Linked DNA regions of Homo sapiens: region 1 is linked to region 2. Evidence: promoter capture Hi-C in human tissues and cell types (Jung and others, 2019). All regions are on one chromosome and are shown on one strand. Each heading gives the region's core, a stretch centred on a gene start or on the middle of the fragment in contact. The rest is flanking DNA. Distances are from core to core; before and after follow the strand shown. Region 1 overlaps PRRX1 (paired related homeobox 1). Region 2 holds the start of PRRX1 (paired related homeobox 1).

Region 1 (2,798 bases), core at 155-2,654, 75 kb before region 2:
CGCCCAGGCTCGAGTTCGGTGGCGCAATCTCGGCTCACTGCAAGCTCCGCCTCCCGGGTTCACGCCATTCTTCTGCCTCAGCCTCCCAAGTAGCTGGGACTACAGGCACCCGCCACCACGCCCGGCTAATTTTTTGTATTTTTAGTAGAGATGGGGTTTCACTGTGTTAGTCAGGATGGTCTTGATCTCCTGACGTTGTGATTCGCCCGCCTCGGCCTCCCAAAGTGCTGGGATTACAGGCGTGAGCCACCGCGCCTGGCCTAAAGTAGCATTTTTTCACATGGCTTTTTTTTCTGCTCAAAAGCCTTCAATAGATCTCTGTGGCCTGAGGAAAAGTCCAAACATCTTTGACATGTGGTACCCTGCAAGATTAAGCCTCAACTTGCATCTCTAGTATCTTCCATTCAACTTTAAAATTAACTCTCCATCTCATCCAGGCCCATTTTGCCATACATCTTTGAATACAAATTCCTCATTCCTATATCCCTGCCTTCACCCCTTCTTCTCCATGCCCTCACTTGAAAAGCCATCACCTGTTCTTCACCTGTCCGGATCCTTGCTGATAAAATTCAAGTCCCAGTTCCTCTGTAAAACTGGTCTCCCACTTCAACTAACAGCATGTTCTCTCTCTTCCTCTTCTGAACTCCTTTTATCTGTTCTGTTTGATACTTATTAATATATTATCTTGAACTGTTGCTTATTTTTGCATGCTAGGGTTGCTTTTTAAACCAGATTTTAATTGATATGAAAACAGCATCTGTGTCTCACAATTTAGTTTTTCTGTCCTCCCCATGACCACACACCCATGCTATGCACAATGGATGCTTAAGAAATTTTATTTTTCTATTTCTTTACTCCAGAAGAAACAGCCATGCTTATATGAAGTCTTTTCCATATGGTGTCCAGTATTGTGAATGTTAAAGATATTGATTTTGAAAATGCTAAACTCTCATAAAAGTTCCACTCTATTCTCATCTATTATAATAGTAAGTGTCCCCTCTTCTTCCTACCATTGTCTTTGTTTCTGAGGAAAAATAGATTATTTTCCTGTTTTATGGAAAATAATATCACACTCAGATAAAGTTATCTTGTCTATAAGCCCTTCTTACCTTCACTGTTCTGCATGTAATCTCAGATTCTAGCAGATCTGTGTTTTTGAAGTTCAAAGAGAAAAGAATCAGCAGGCTTAAATGTATATAACAAAAGACATGGTAGAGTCCTTCTTTCTTTTTATTGAAAAGAAATCATTTCTATTCTAGCGCAAACAATGTATATTTTACAACATAAAGCAAGATATAATTTACATATTACATTTCTTATGAGATCTTTATACCCTAAATGTCATTCCCTTTTTTATTAAGTCACCTCTTCTGGTTTAATTTAACCTGCCAAGTACCCTACAAATCAGCATCTTGTTTGAAGGGAGATTGAGGACACAGGCAGATAGTTCCTATGTATTCACCTGTATCTGGTATCATGATGGTGAGGAACAGGGTTATGTCTTGACATTTGCAGCCCTGAGGACCTCCACTGACAACTGGCTTAAGATCCAGAAGGCATCTTTTCCAAATCACATACCAAACTTGTATTTTAAAAATTTGATAATAAATGAACAAAATTGAGAGCTTGTACAACATGTATATTTCTTGATCAAGTGCTTAGATAATACATGCTTATGGTATTGGTTCACCAGCAGTGAATGTTTCTTTGGCTGACCAGCACTTGTTACTCTATGATATTCCCAGACATTGCTTGCTTGAGACATTGGATAAAACCACCCAACTTCACCTATCATTTGGGTTTATGGGTTCAGGCTTTGCTGTTTGCCACTGGAAATGGATGTCTGAATCAAAATTTCAAATGATTTTGTTTCACATGTCCCTCTATCTAAGGTTTTCCCCTTCTCAGTAAAACCTTTTCATGTATGATTTCTGTTCCCTCCCTATAATTCAAATCTTCTTAGCCATTCTCTTCAAGCTCCAAACCTCCAAAGTTCACCAGTTACTTGGATTATACTCATTTCACTTAGAATGTTTCAGTCTGTTGGGATGTACAGTTCCTTCAAAACTTGATAATCCACAGCAACTAATGGGACAAATGGATGAATGGGGGAACTCTTCAGGAAGCAAGTAATGCGTGCTGTTCAGCAAGCCTACATGAACCATTCAGTAAGAAATGTTTTAATAGTGGGCTAAAAGAAGAAGGAATCAATTGGTGAAAGCAAAATGTATAAGATGAGCTTCATTATTATTTAAAGAACTACAGAATCAACATTTGAAATACAATTTCAGATTGGTGGCTGTTAGATTGAAATAACATCACCATTAGCTCAATCTGATATGCCAAGGGAAATACAAATGTGTGCTAAAAGTGCATCTTAAACCCAAAAATCCTTGCCTGTCACTCAGACTACAAAGTTGGCATGTTTGACCAAAATTGATCCAAAGTTTTTTAATCACTCACAACTAAAAATTATTAGAACTAAGCTGGTCAGGATGAAAATATAAATTAAAAAAATCTGTTCTATGTGTCTTAAATTATTCTTTGGTCAAATGATGTGATTTTTGAGAGATCTGAAAATATAAACCTATTTCTCATTTCCAAATACAAGGTTATAAGTATGTACAGCAAGGTAGCATTTTCTTACTAGAAAACAAGGCTTTCAGGTACCGTATCATTCCATTAACATTGTACACTTTTATAGTCCCTTTCCTCCCATGGCTACAAAGTGCTGGACATACAGAGAATACAGGAAAGAATAAAGGAGCAAATGAATAGAGCCTCACAACACCCCTGTG
Region 2 (2,863 bases), core at 115-2,614:
GCTAAGTTCAGACTCTTGCAACCTCGAGGAGAAGAGGGAGTATCTGTACATATCTGGCCACATGTCACCTGGGATGAACAGGGTGACCGGTCTGTTACAGACTTGGGGGCATGGGGATACAATTGCAGTCTCTTTTTAAGGCACTAGCGAAGCGAGATTTTCATGGGTCGCGAGGTTGGTCGGTGAGGATGGGGAAGGGAAACTGGACTTTTCTGGGCGTTTAAGAGCCAATAGGGAGAGCTCCTCTAAGGTGACACTGGCCTCCGCACTGAAGCTCGCGCCTCCCGGATGCAGCTCGCCTGTGCGGGATCATGCGGGGCTGGATTTCAGGTTTCACCCTTAAAGGACATTCCCTTTGCTTGGCCCGAGTTTTCCCAAGCCAGCCGGGCTTTTGACTCTGCCAGTCTCAAACCCATTTGCGGTAGAGGCAACAGCAGGGGGCAGAGAGCAGCTCCAGCGTCTGGGGCCGGGCGTTCTCTCGGGGCCTCCCGGTCGCGCCCGGCCTTACGGTGCCCGCGTGGAGAGTGCAGCCTGAGCAGCGCCAAGTCCTGCTCCCTGTGCCTGGTGCCCTCCCTCAAGCCGTCATACGCTGCCCGAGAGAAGCCCTTCCAACCCGACTCAGCATCTTTAACCTGCTGCTTTCCCAAACAGCGCTGGCTCTCTGAGTTTGCACCCCGCTAAGACCTTTTCCCAGCCCAGCCCCGCCGCCCCGCGTGCGGGATGAACCGAGCCGGTGCCTAGCCGAAGTAAAGAGAGTCCGCCGCGGACAGAGTCCCTGCCTGAGACCGCAGGGCCTCGGAGTGTCCCCGGACCTTGGAGCCTCTCTCCAGCGTCCTCCTTGGCTATGCCCTCGGCCGAGACCCGCTTTTCTCATCTGGTTTCCCCTGTGACTGGCCCTTCCTTTGAAGTCTGCCATCACCTCTCCTGGTCCCAGGACCTTGTCTTTCTGGCCGCGGACGGGCTCTAGCTGCCCTACACGGGTCCCCGCCCTCTGTCCCGGGCACACACCCCCGTGGGCATGCGCCCCTCACTCACTGTCCTGCTGCGGGGTGTCGCTGCCGCTGGTGAGTCCCGGCGACTCCAGCAGGCTCCGGCCAGCCTCGCCCACGTTCTCATCCGCCTGTGCCGCCACCATGTCCCCGGCTTCCTCCAGGTCTAGCAGGTGACTGACGGAGAAGTTCTTTTTCGCCTGCAGGGTGTCGAGGTTGCCCGGGCTGTCCAAGCGGCCGCCCAGCGCCGGTTGCCGCTCCAGAACGTGCCCGTAGCTGGAGGTCATGGTCTCCCCCACCGATCCCACCCACCCCCCTCTTCCCGCTCGAATCAACACCAAACGCTGTGGGCGCGAGGGGGGAGAGGAGCCGAGTGGGGAAGAAAGAGGGGGGTAGTGGAGAGAGAGAGAGAGAGAGGGAGGAAGAGGGAGGGAAGGAGAGGAAGGCCAAAAAAAAAAAATTGGAAAAGAGGGTGGGGGACCCCCTTCTGTAGAGCAGAGCGTTGTGCACCAGCCGCCTTCCGCAGCATTGGTTGATTTCCTGAGGCCAAGTCCGGCGCGGTCCAAAGAGATAATCCACAGTAAAATACAATATTAAAAAGTCACCCTATGTTCAAGTCAGGAGAAAAAAATCCCTTCCAACTCTCCAAAAGTGTCCACACGCACAGACTAAAAATAATAACAAGGGGGAGAGAGGAAAGCGGAGGCCAGCAGGGCGGGGGAGTTAGGCAAACAGAAGAAGAGAGAAGAAGGGGTGGGAGAGAAGAATCAAAGTGAATGGTTTTTTTAAAGGTTAAAAAAGTTATTCCCAGGCAAGAGTTCAAGCACCAACAGAAGAAGGCTTGTTCCAGCTTTAAAACATCTTCAAGAAAACGTGTTCCCCCCTCTCTGCACTCCTGTGGATTCTCAGGAGTGACTAAAGTTTCAGGAGGAGAGGGTGATGTCTTGCAGATGTATTAGAGAGCAGGATTCTCACTTTACTTTTTGTAAAGAGTAAAAAAAAAAATTAAGAATTAAAAAAAAAAGGCTTCAAGAGTCCGACGGAGGGTGCTGGTGGGTTCCCCCCTTTCCCCTTCTCTCTCTCCCCCTCTTCTTGCTGGGCTCCTTTTTCCTTCTCAGTTGGATCAAGAAGCTCTCTGGCACTTCAAAAGGCACAAACTGGCATGCAGAGGAGGCTTTGTAGGGAATACAAGAAAATTGGAGACCCCTGGGAGGGCAGATCTCGACTTAATAGGAGCCTGTAATTACGTGGCAAAGCCTTTGTGCTGTGCCTGACGTTTCACAGACCCCCTTTCTCCATCACAATCTCCTTCTTCCTCCTTTCCCTGGGACCAAAAAACAGTCTGATTAAGAAAACCCCCTTTGCCAACATCAGAGTTAGAGAGAAAGGGAGAGGGAGGGAACAAGAGAGAGGGAGGGAGAGAGGGAGGGAGGGAGGGAGGAAGGGAGAGAGAGAGAGAGAGAAAGAGAGAAGAGAAATGAGAGAGGGAAGAGAGCAAGAGAGCCCCTTTGGATTTCTAAAGGTCTAATTATCATTCCCCTGCAATAATATCACGGGGAGAAAAGACAAACTGAAACTCACAGTCACTTCAAACGTGCTGATTATTTTGCTTCGGCATTAACTCCTCCAGATTTGTTTAAGATCCTGTTGGAAAATCTCATTTGCATGTTTTGATAACAGCTGTGGGGAAATTTGGAAAAAATCCACCACCATCACAATCAAATTTTCTTCTCCTTCTGCCTTCCCCCAAACCGCCCCCCCCCAAAAAAAAATTTTCTGCTGTTCTAACAGTTTGGGGCGGAGTACAGGGAGAAAGTAAGCATATTAAGGCTATTTTTGGTTCCGTAGAGGGAGCCTATTAAATAATGTAATAA

The links. The method cuts DNA at HindIII sites, captures the fragments that hold promoters and counts their contacts. A contact is called where the count stands out against the background at its distance.
Region 1: a fragment that was not itself captured here is called in contact with the fragment with the promoter of PRRX1 in region 2 in 3 of the 25 tissues and cell types used here (adrenal gland, hippocampus and psoas muscle).

Annotation. Positions count from the first base shown.
Region 1 is chr1:170,737,815-170,740,612 of GRCh38, reverse strand. PRRX1 (paired related homeobox 1) reads right to left here. Exons shown (of 4, transcript NM_022716.4): 4 at 1,192-2,798. Among named protein-coding and RNA genes, the nearest start is that of PRRX1, 75 kb to the right of the region's middle. The HindIII fragment of the contact is 4,339 bases long and covers 1-2,798 here.
Region 2 is chr1:170,662,632-170,665,494 of GRCh38, reverse strand. It overlaps PRRX1 (paired related homeobox 1), which reads right to left and starts at 1,364. Exons shown (of 4, transcript NM_022716.4): 1 at 1,036-1,364. The coding sequence starts at 1,276. RefSeq lists enhancers at 1-731, 1,932-2,459. The HindIII fragment of the contact is 17,405 bases long and covers 1-2,863 here.